4 separate regions of the Homo sapiens genome follow, and all the other regions are linked to region 1. Evidence: promoter capture Hi-C in 16 types of primary human blood cells and fetal thymus (Javierre and others, 2016). All regions are on one chromosome and are shown on one strand. The core of a region is centred on a gene start or on the middle of the fragment in contact, and the rest is flanking DNA. Distances in the headings are between cores, read along the strand shown. Region 1 holds the start of ASMER1 (adipocyte associated metabolic related lncRNA 1). Region 2 holds the start of HSPA13 (heat shock protein family A (Hsp70) member 13). Region 3 overlaps LOC105369302 (a long non-coding RNA gene). Region 4 has its middle 240 kb from the start of USP25.

Region 1 (2,700 bases), core at 39-2,538:
AGTTCAAAGTGAGAGTGGGCTAAAAAATAAGTAGGAGTCAGAAAGAGAGAGTAGGAGATTGGGTAAAATGATAAAATAATGAGAAAAAGAAATAATTTCTATGTATCAGGTAGGAGAGAGAAGCTATTTCCTAGGGCTTTGGGGGAAATGAATTTCCCACACCAAAGGTGGAGTAGATTGAAAAACCGATAGATTGCTCTTCACTCCTTCACTGAGGTTCTGAAACTGTAGGCATTGAATGCTGCATTAAAGATACATGTGCATCTTATTCCTCATAAGTAAATTACATTGTTTTATTACTATGCTGTGTGGCCCAAAAGGCAAGCAATAATTTTTAGTGGCTGAGAAGAAACTAGTTTCACAAACAAGGGGCACTTTGAAAAAACAAATGTACTCAAAAAGACAATGTTGCTCTGGGCTTTATTTAGAATTAAATTCCAGAACTCACTCAAAACTGCAGAACCAGTACTCAAATTTGGTACCCCTTTTGCTCATCCTTCCTAAAGTCACCCTTCACACACAAATCTTTCCACCCTCCTCTCCAGGCATTTTAAATAGCTGCAGGATTAGAAATTGCAAAACAGATGCCTCCGGCCAAAAGCACCAAGTTTTGCTGATAAATTTTCCTGAAATCACACAAATGGAAAAAACGGAAGTCAGAAGTGTACATTTTATATTCAGCAGCTAAAGTCTGAAATCTCAGGTTATAAGTAAATTATTTTGTGATTAAATCCTAATCTCATCAATTTAAAGAACCAAAAACCCAGCTCAATAATCCACCACAATCTTACCTTGAAAATGTGGTTCTCTTATTTGAATGTCTTCTTCCAGTACTAATTCGATTTCTTTTCCTGAAAATTCTGCCACATGGTGCTACTTTCGGACATTTAATATATTTCATTTATAATTACTCTCACGTGTAAATGGTATCTTTAAATAATATGTGCAGGAGTTCTTAATAAGTTTTCACAACTCTCCTTATAAAGCAAAGCTATTCATTTTTAGAGAGTTTGAACGTTTTGGTGTTAATTTGATAAATAACAGCTATTGGACAACTGAAGAGAATAACCACTCACAGGCAATCTTCTCTTTGTACTTGATTTTAAAATATTAATATTTCATTCATGGTGTCTTCTCAAATTAAATTTCTCAGGGTTACTGGACCTCAGATACTAAAAGGACAAAGAAAAGGGACAGATGAGAACAGCTACGAAGCGATAGTGAAAACATATGGTGTCCATCTTGTAAGCATAAGGCTCCCTGGTATTGCTGCCACTCTCCCTGTGCTCGGGAAAGCTGGAAGAAGCCAGTAGGCAATCTGGTGTCTCGTCAGAAGAGTGCCAGAAACAGGTGTTGCTGACCTAACCCTTTCCTCCTACCACAGATTCTCTTGGTAAATCCTACACTCGTTACCATAGCATTGCTTTCAAACACACTTATCAGATGAAAACCAAGTGTTCCAAAATAACAGTTTATATGGAGTCAAAATGCTGAAAATTGCTGTGATTGGTTTTTTCTTTCTCTTTTTTTTTTTCAGTTTTTAGAATCGGGTAATTTTAAAATTACAATAAAATGCACACATTTTAAGTGTTCCCTGCGTGAGTGTTGATGGTTGTATACACCGATGTAGCACCACCCAAAACAAGATACAAAACGTTTCAATCACTCCAGAAGTTTTCCTCCTTCTCCTTTTCAGTCAAACCACACTGTACTGATTTCCATTGCCATAGACAATTTTGCCTGTCTTTGAACATAATATACTGTATATATTCTTTACATCTGGCTTTTTTTTGCCAATATATATTTTTAAGACTCATTCTTACTGTTGCATGTTATCACTAGCTCATTCCTTTTCATTACAGAGTAATATTTAACTGTATAAATATACCACAATTTGCTTACTCATTTTCTAGGAAATGGATATTTAAGTGTTTCCAGATGTTCTTGGAACAGTCTCATATAAGACTTTGTGTAGACGTATGTGATCATATCACCTGGATAAATACCTAGGAGTGGAATTCCTGAGACACAATATGTTTAACTTTTAAGAATGTGGCAAACCTTTCCCCACAATCGTTGTAATATTTTACTCTACTGACTTGTTAGTATTTATCTTTCTCCATATCCTCATCAATATTTGGTGCTGTCAGTCTTAGCCATTCCAGTGAGTGTGAAATGCTAACTCATTATGATTCTAAATTGCATCTCTCTGACGACTTATGATGTTGAATAGCTTTTCAGGTGTTCATTAGCCTCATCCTATGTAGGACATCTTATTCCCAAATTTTCTTTTGCTAAGTGTCTTTCCAGACTTTGGCCCATTTTTTACTGAGCTGTTTATCTTTTTATTGTTGACTCGTAAAAGTTATTTATATATTCTGGATATGACCTATTCATGAAAAATAAGTGATGAGAATTTTCAAAGTCTGTCGATTGCCTGTTCACTTTCTTTTAATGAGCAGAAATTAAATTTTATTGAAAATCAAATATTCTTTGACAGGTGAAATGTTTTTAATTCTAATACATTTTTGCATACCCCAGGGTTACAAAGATATTATTTATTTTCTTCAAAAAGCTTTTTGATTATAATGTTTATATTTAAGTTTATGATCTATTTCTACGTAATTTTTGTGTTTTGGGTGAGGTAAGATCAGAGATCATTTTTTGTTTTCTAATGGATAGCCAATCTTTCTTGCATCA
Region 2 (2,700 bases), core at 22-2,521, 540 kb before region 1:
GCAAAAGCCAGATATAATCTAATATTCTTGATCAATTGATATTTAGATTTTACAGCTTTATAAAAAGCTTCGATTATCTTTTTTTAAAAGCTCCATTATTAAAATTCTCACAAGAAAAACTTTATTATTTTATAAGTCTAAAATTCTCTCCTCGTATCTCACCTCCTTTTCCCTTTCAAAAGGATGAAATGAATAAATGGGATAAAATGATTTTGAAAGTTCCTTAGATATGAAACTGTCACTTCAAAACAGAACACAGTTAACTTTTTATGTATTTAAGTATGAACTAGGGACTTCCTTCTTGCAGTGGTAATATTTAGGGGAGAAGAAGCATAAAGGTGGGCAACCCTGACGGCAACATCTATGAAAGCTTCTTGAAGACAAGTTTCGTTCACTGTTGTATCCCCCAGACCAGGAATAGCAGATGCCCAACAAATACTAATTTAAAAAAAAAAGAAAAAAGAGTAGGAACAAATGCCACGCAGATTGTAAACATAAGCGAAGAAAGATGCCCCTTTAGTTTTTAATGAATCTCGTATTTGGTATCAGGAGGCTGTGTTATACACCTGTGTCCGCTCATATTACATATGACCCAAAACATGAATTTTCAGGGCTCTGTGTTACTAATTGTTAGCTCATCCTCATCAACACATAACTCAAAGAAATAAAACCAAGTGCGAATCCCACTTTCCACTTCCAGCTACAGGCAACATTTCAGAAGCATTTCATCACCTTGGAGACGCGGGGTGGGTGTGTGTGTGGGTGGGGGATAGGTAATTCCAAACCCGATGTGATGGAAAAAGCCTCCAAATTCAGCATCCCTGAGCCGACAGATCCGGATGTAGCTCCTCCCCCTTCCTCCACAAAGGGGTCCTGGAGGTGCACGTTCTCGCAGCCTTCCATAGCTTGCCCCAATTCAACAGGCAATTCAAAAACCTAGGTGCTGTTGAAAGGAACGCCTCCCTAAGCCTGATGTCCCTGGGATGGACACAGCTGGTCGCCGTCTATCCTACCTTGGCCTGCAGGGGCCGGGGCCCTCCTAGAGGCGTCCCCGCCCCCATCCACTCCGAACAGCCGAAAACCGTCTCTAAGTCACCTTTCTGACTCCCCTTCCGCTGCTCCAGCTAGATCCAGGAGGTGAGTCAACCACCCCTGCCCACTCTGGCATCCTCAGATCGCCTCTACGCCCGCAAGAGCAACAAGGACCCCCGGGAACCCACCTAAGATCGTCATCTCTCTGGCCATCACAGTCCCGCCGAACAGGCTTGTGATGACTGTACCAGACGTGAGGCACCGCCCCCACTCCTCCCGGCAGTCCCGCAGCCCCCTGGGAAATGTAGTCCGCTTGCTCTGAGGCAATCGGAGAAGCTATCGCTCTGACCAAAGCAAGGACTTCATCTACCGTGAGGGCGCGGGGCAAAGAGCCTCCATTCAACCGCTGCCAGTGACGACTGAGTCCCCCTTCCACGCAACGGCCGGCAGGACCAGTGAGACTGAGGGGGAGGAGCGCCGTGGCGAGAGACTGGCGTTTATAATCAAACCTGTGGTCCCGCGATCCTACTTGAGGGAAAACAGGCTATCTCTTTAGCCCCGCCCCGCGCTTTGCATTCTGGGAAGCGGAGTTCCAGCCTTTCTCTTTCCGCGGGAGGGAATGAAAGGGAGGGTGAGAACCGTTAGTTATTTCTTTCTTTGGTCGTGCCCCTAATCAGGTCCAGGATTCGAGTTTGTGTTCTTTCGTTTTAATTCCTTTTAAAGCGCGTTCGTTTGCCTGAGATCTAGCTTCTAGATGGCGTTCCTATAGCCTCCCGGAGCCCCAGCCATCCTCCGTAGAAGGGTCCCTGCCGCAGTGCGGGGCCTGAGGGAAGTCGGCTCTGGCGTCCGTGCTCCAACGCTGGGAGCAGCCCTGAAACTCCAGTGACCCTCAGCCGTCTGCCTTTGTTTTGGGATAAATGAATTCAAGCATTCTTCAGTCAATTCGATTTATCCAAGGGATCAGGGACACATTTTCTCTATTGCTAGCACTGACGTGGGCCATTAAAAACAAAAACAAAAACGAAATTAAAAAGAAAACCCTTAGCTCTCTCTTCAAGTAAGTCTTAAGTGGCCAAAATTGACCTTATGGGCAAGTCCTGTAACGTGACAGCCATTTTAGGACGCTTGTGACATGCTGTTCAGGTTCTAGTCTGAAGTAGGATTTTTCTCGCATCTTGGTCACTGGTAGCACTTAATGACTCCTCTGAGAGTGGTTTTGTCATTTTTGCTGTTAGAGTTCACGATAACTAAGATCCTGGAGAATTGAATCCATTTTCTCAGCTTAGATATAAATCAAACCATCCCTGTTGACAACACGTCAGCCTGCTGTGGGAATACATTGCTGGTTATTTCTGACTTATCAATGTGAATTTTGATTATGGAAGCTGAATTCTGGTTGATAGGGATCCATTGTAATGTTCTCTCTACTTTTGCGCATTTTTAAGTATTTCATAATGCGAAATATAAAAAGTGTGTGTCTATAGTGAGTGCTGTTCAATAAGATTCTTATAAGGAGTGAAGAATTCAAGCACTTAGTTCTTAAGTATTACTTGTAATGGGCAGTGGGCTGGAGGTGTTCCAGGCAGACGGAACTCAATTACCAAGAGCACAGAAGCAAGAGATCATCTATTCCATAGATTAGAAAGTGGTGGATCATAAAGCATGAGG
Region 3 (2,700 bases), core at 133-2,632, 610 kb after region 1:
TTATCTTTCCTTTCTCCTTTCTCATCACCAAGGCTACAGTGTGTTATCCAGATTTGTCCTTTCTTGGCTCATTTCAAGCTTCATCAAACGTTACCTATTTTGTGTATCATGTCCTCAAGTCACCAGTCAATATAATATCTACCTCCTACTTTAATATGTATGTGGATACATATATTACTCCATGTAACATCTGGGGAAAAGAGGTTTAAAACCACAACTCTTACCATGACAATTCACTGTCATGGTAAGAATGCCAGGCAGGCTAGTGTATAAGGTACTAATAACTAGTACCTTTCTGAGCCCTTGTCTTACTTCTCAAATTAACCAACGTAATGAGCTTTCTACTCTTCCAAAAAGTAAGATCTACTTTGAAGTGTGGATATTCAAGAACCATGTTCCCAACCAACATCCAAAGCCAAAGCAATAAGCATGTTGTCAATTTCGACTCTTTCTGTGAAGACTCTATCAAACATAGATTCTTGGATCTACCAAAATATATCTCCTTTTCCGTGATCTTGTTTTCACTTTAACTGCTCGCTGCAAAAAAAAGAAAAAAAAAATCTTAGCTACATTACTTTTAACCATAATAGTTGCTTTCTGATCCTTACAAATAATATTTGGGTATAAACACCATCAACAAACTTCTCTTTTCCAGTTTCTGGCCCAGGATACAGAAAGCCTTTATCATTTCAGGCTCTTGCAAGCATTTTGCAATCACTTTATGTCCCAGGCAATAAATATTAATTCCAGTAAGTGTTTACTTAAATAAGTTTGTGGCCACTTGCAGAACCCATTATGTAACACTCCCTACAACTCTCTGCCTGCCAAAATATCACACTTTGAACAAGGCTTTTGGTTCAATCAGTGTATCAGCCCAATACATCGCTGCTTCTAGCCTCAACATCCTTCCCTTCTTTCCAGAGGAAGAAGGTGGTAAAGTCGTTTCCTTCCATTGCTGTGAATCAAAAGACATTTGACCATTTGACAAGGGCAACAGAATGCTGCCTGCCTGCTGTCTATCCAAAAACAAGGAGGAATTTTGCAGGAGTGTTGCAAAATAAAATTCTTCATTCAGAAAGATTTTTATTCAGATAAAAAAATTGGTTAACGAATGCAGCTTTAATTGCTTCTAGAGTTTGAAAGGGATTGTTTTTATAATATGCTATTACTTTCACCCAATTCATATTATAAACCATTCCAAGGCTTTAAACAAAAACTAAAGGGAACATATCTGTAAAAGTAACAACTAGCCTTGAATATAAACTTGGAATTAAATAAAATTATGTTATATGCTACAAATTAATCAAAAATTAAATATTTATATCATCATTATTTAACTTATTCACTTCTTGATTAATTCATCAATTCACATGTTTTAGAACCACAATTTATGCTTATGTCACTTCATTATAAAAAGAAGGCTACATAGAACAAATAATTAGAAAAAGTTTCTATTCTTCATACACATACAAGAGCTTGCATGATACACTGAATACTCTAGATAAAGTTATGCCTTTCCCATTAATAGATGTAAAGATGCAGGGATGAAGAGGAAACTGAAAGTTCCTAAAAATTAGTCCTTATATCTCATATGCCTGGAAATGTAACCCAACATTCTATCAAAAGAGATTTGTAGTGGATTCATATTAGAGAGAGACACTGAAAGCCAAGCACTTAAAACAAATTTAATTTGCCAAAATTTCAAAGTGGAAAAATTTCAGAAGCCTTCTGACACTTACCAGTGCCATAGGAATTATGCATTTACTGGCATCATGCATTTGTAGTCTGAAGAAATACAGTAATACTACATGGATTTCTGATATATTAAAATGTCTTCTTTCCTAGGGTGCTAAGGCAAGTGCACTCTATGTTGGTTGCCTGAGCTCGTAGCCTTATCACTCTTAAGTTTGTGTTTAGTAAGTATATTATTTTGAACTAGAAGTGAGGTTGGTTTTGTAGTTGTTAACGATTTGCTTTCTTGTGTACATTTGATCTCTCTAAAAAAGATACAAGTGTACTGAGGACTGGGATGGTATCTTTCATATCTTTTGCACAATCCAATTGCATTAGAACCATACAGTGCTCCCGGTGCCAGCATCACAGCTACTCATCAGGACTGAATTAGGAATCCAACCCATTAACTGGCTCGGTGACCCTGGACAATTCATTTTACCTTTTGAGACTCCTGGTGCTTCCCATATAAAATGAGGTGACTACATTCTTTCTAAGATACTTTCCAGTTATAAAACTCTATGATGCTTAATTAAGGAAGCAAGTAAAGGAAGGAAGTTATATGAATGTGTGGGGAACCGTGATACCCAAATTCACAGCATAGACTGCCAAAATCCTTGGCAAAACTATTGATGTGCTGGAAAACCAGAGGGGAGCATTATGAAAAAGCAGGCAGAGACCAGAGAGAAATCTGCTCCTTAGAGCTAGAGCAACGTGGATCCAAATTTGTGAGCTACATGCTTTTCTTTTTTTCTTTAACTGAATTTTCCAATTATGTGCAACCTGGGTGGTAAAAAGCCTGAAGTGTCCAAGTTTAAAGACAAACCTGACAGAACAGCTGAAAATTAGGAAAATTCATAGAAACATGAAAACAACAGAGAGAATGATCCTAATCATTGCCTAGTTCCTCATCTCTGCCCAAATTTAACAAGCATGGAGGAAATCAACAGGGGGAGAAGCTTTAAAAGC
Region 4 (2,700 bases), core at 55-2,554, 570 kb after region 1:
AGTTAGGTACTACTCTTTTCCCAAAGCTTACAAATAATTCAATGAAGGCATAAAAAGCTTAAATAACCTATAAACAATCATACTACTCCAAAGGAATGAAGCTGAGATTTAAGCCTAGATATATTATCTATTGCTGCATAACAGATTCTTCCAAAACTTAGTGGCTTAACACAATAGCATTTACTATTTCACAATTCCTTGTAGCTTCTCTGGGTCCTCTGGCTCTGAGTTGCTTACTAGGAGAAAATCACAGACACCCCAGTGCTCTATTGAGAGTGGATCCGCTTCCAAGCCCATATAGTTGTTGGCAGGATTCTGTTCCTCGCTGGCTATTGGAGTGAAGGCCTCAATTCCTTGCAGGCTGTTGCCTGGAGGCTGCCCTTGTGCGCTCTCCATGGGGTGGCTCAGAACATGGCAGCTGGCTTCCAGAATGAGCCAACAAGACAGCCCCAGAATGTGAGCAAAATAGAAGTCACTGACTTTTACAACCTCATCTTGAAGTGGCATCGCTTAGAAGCAAGTTATTAACTCCAACTCACACTCAGTGGGAAGAAATCAAACAAAGATGTGAATATCAGGAAACAGAGCTCATTGGAAGCCATCTTAGGAACTACCACACCAAGAATGTTTTTTTGTTTTTTAAAAATTAAAAAAAAATTAACTAAAGCCTTATGATGACATCACTTACAAGTCTGTGCTGATGGTATATCTCTACATTCTAATGAGTTTGTAAAACCCTCATTACTAATCATGTATATATGGCATTTCTACAATTTTATTTGTTTTTTAACAACTACGTAAGCATAAGCCTGAATTACAACATAGTGTAATAGTAAACAATTCAAAAGTGAATTCTAACTTGCTACTACTTCTTGTCATTTTGACCTTTAAAAGCATCAGATCTTGTAGATTATCTATAAAATGTAAAAAGTGTTAAATATTTTTTGATATTATATATAAACTATGTAAAAAACAACAATTTAGATGCAAGAAATTTTTGTGAAATTGACATAGAACATACCAAATAAAATAAAAAAATAAAATAAAATAAAATAAAATGGGCATGGCAATCAAATCTTCACCCTCTGCATTTAGATGGACTGGTAAACACAAATTCAAATACAGTTGAGTCTTACTCTACTTTATAAGATAGTGAAGGAATTTCACTATCATATTAAAGTATATTCATATAACCAGTTATATAAATCTAAATAGAAAACCAATCTTCTCTAGTTATGAGATGGCAATCAGCAGGTTTGTGAAAAGTTGGACCTAACTAATCCAGGTTAGCCTCAATTCCAATTATGCCTTTAGAAGAGGAAATTGTGATAATATTTGCTGGACCTGAATTACTATCAAAATTCAAAAAGTATGATCACATTCATTTAACGACCAGCCAATTTTATTTAAATCAGGACTGTTCAACAAGAATATTCTATCAGCCATTAATGATCTGAATTCTGGTTTATCAGATTAATTGAAATATAGCACCTGCTTTTAAACAGTTATCAGGCATTTGTCTTTTGTAATAAGTAAAGCAGTGGCTTACTATTATTCATTAGTCGGTTTTTTTGTTTGTTTGTTTGTTTTGAGATCTGCTATCAAGTTTGCACTCTCTCCCTTATAAGTTCAAGCTGAAAAGTTCTGTAGTCCCCATGACCATCCTCACTTCTGATACCAACTGCAAATTCAGGAAACTCCAAGATTATGCATGTACTTGCTAGTTTGATAGAGGTATTCACAGAAACTCAGAAAAGTCATTATATTCACTTATATTCACAGTTGTACGTTATGACAGCAAAAGAATACAGATTAAAATTAATAGAAGGAAGAGTCACATAAGGCAGATCTGGGAGACAACAAAACATGCAACTTGTAGTTGTCCTCGCCCAGTGAAGTGGTGCAGACTGTGCCTATTTCTCCCAGAAAGGATGAGTGACAGTACACATGGAGTCTCACCAACTAGAGATGCTCACCTAAGTTTTAGTGTCCTGAGTTTTATGGGGGATTGGTCACATTGACATGACTTACCACACGGCTGATCATAGTCTCCAGTCCCTCCAGAGGTCAAAACGATAACATGTTGCCCAAGAATAAATAACATGTTGTTCCATTGTTAGCACAGACAATCTGGTGTGGCCCAAGGCCTCCCGGAAAACAAAGAAACTCATATAGGGCAAGGACATTCCAAGGTCTTAGAGATTTACCTCCCAGGAGCCCAGGGAAAAGGCCAAATCTTTCTTTGGACAAAATTAATTCTTTACTGCACACCAGCGAAGATCATTTTTGTTCCAAGGATGTGTCTTTTTGGACACATCAAATATTCTATCAGTGTTCTCAGGCACTACCTTTGTTCTTGTTGGCATCTGTGTAAGAGAATCCAGGGCCTGAACCATTGTCCACTCAAACAGACCATACACACCTGGTCCAGTTTTGTGCATGCCTCCCTTTTCCACAGTGTGCCACTTGCTATAGTTCTGAACAAAAACTCCCTTGCCCTTCGGAGCTTTATTTATTTTTAATTTGCTCTGTCATTGCATTGCATGCAATAGAAGCTTCCTGGTGGAAGCTCAATGTTCTGCTCAGTCCCAGACACGTTTTCAGCCACTGTATCATTGCCTTAGGTTGTGGTTTCCCCAAAGCAGCACCGGAGGTAAGGGCTTGTGTGCAGGAGTTCACTTGGGAGGTGGCTCTAGGAAA

What was found. Contacts are between HindIII fragments. The CHiCAGO score rates a contact against its expected background, and 5 or more counts as called.
Region 2: a contact is called between the fragment with the promoter of HSPA13 here and the fragment with the promoter of ASMER1 in region 1, in 2 of 17 cell types (M2 macrophages and M0 macrophages). The highest score is 7.6, in M2 macrophages.
Region 3: a contact is called between a fragment that was not itself captured here and the fragment with the promoter of ASMER1 in region 1, in 2 of 17 cell types (M2 macrophages and M1 macrophages). The highest score is 5.3, in M2 macrophages.
Region 4: a contact is called between a fragment that was not itself captured here and the fragment with the promoter of ASMER1 in region 1, in 2 of 17 cell types (M1 macrophages and naive B cells). The highest score is 6.8, in M1 macrophages.

What each region holds. Positions count from the first base shown.
Region 1 is chr21:14,917,380-14,920,079 of GRCh38, forward strand. ASMER1 (adipocyte associated metabolic related lncRNA 1) reads right to left here and starts at 1,289. Exons shown (of 4, transcript NR_146322.1): 1 at 792-1,289. The HindIII fragment of the contact is 3,530 bases long and covers 1-2,573 here.
Region 2 is chr21:14,381,875-14,384,574 of GRCh38, forward strand. HSPA13 (heat shock protein family A (Hsp70) member 13) reads right to left here and starts at 1,272. Exons shown (of 5, transcript NM_006948.5): 1 at 1,221-1,272. The coding sequence starts at 1,245. It overlaps LOC105369304 (a long non-coding RNA gene), which reads left to right and starts at 892. Exons shown (of 2, transcript XR_007067924.1): 1 at 892-2,700. RefSeq lists enhancers at 979-1,288, 1,679-1,808. The HindIII fragment of the contact is 7,322 bases long and covers 369-2,700 here.
Region 3 is chr21:15,526,187-15,528,886 of GRCh38, forward strand. It overlaps LOC105369302 (a long non-coding RNA gene), which reads right to left. Exons shown (of 3, transcript XR_001754972.2): 3 at 1-537. Among named protein-coding and RNA genes, the nearest start is that of USP25, 200 kb to the right of the region's middle. The HindIII fragment of the contact is 2,612 bases long and covers 77-2,688 here.
Region 4 is chr21:15,488,267-15,490,966 of GRCh38, forward strand. It overlaps the pseudogene CYCSP42. Among named protein-coding and RNA genes, the nearest start is that of USP25, 240 kb to the right of the region's middle. RefSeq lists a silencer at 145-353. The HindIII fragment of the contact is 2,498 bases long and covers 56-2,553 here.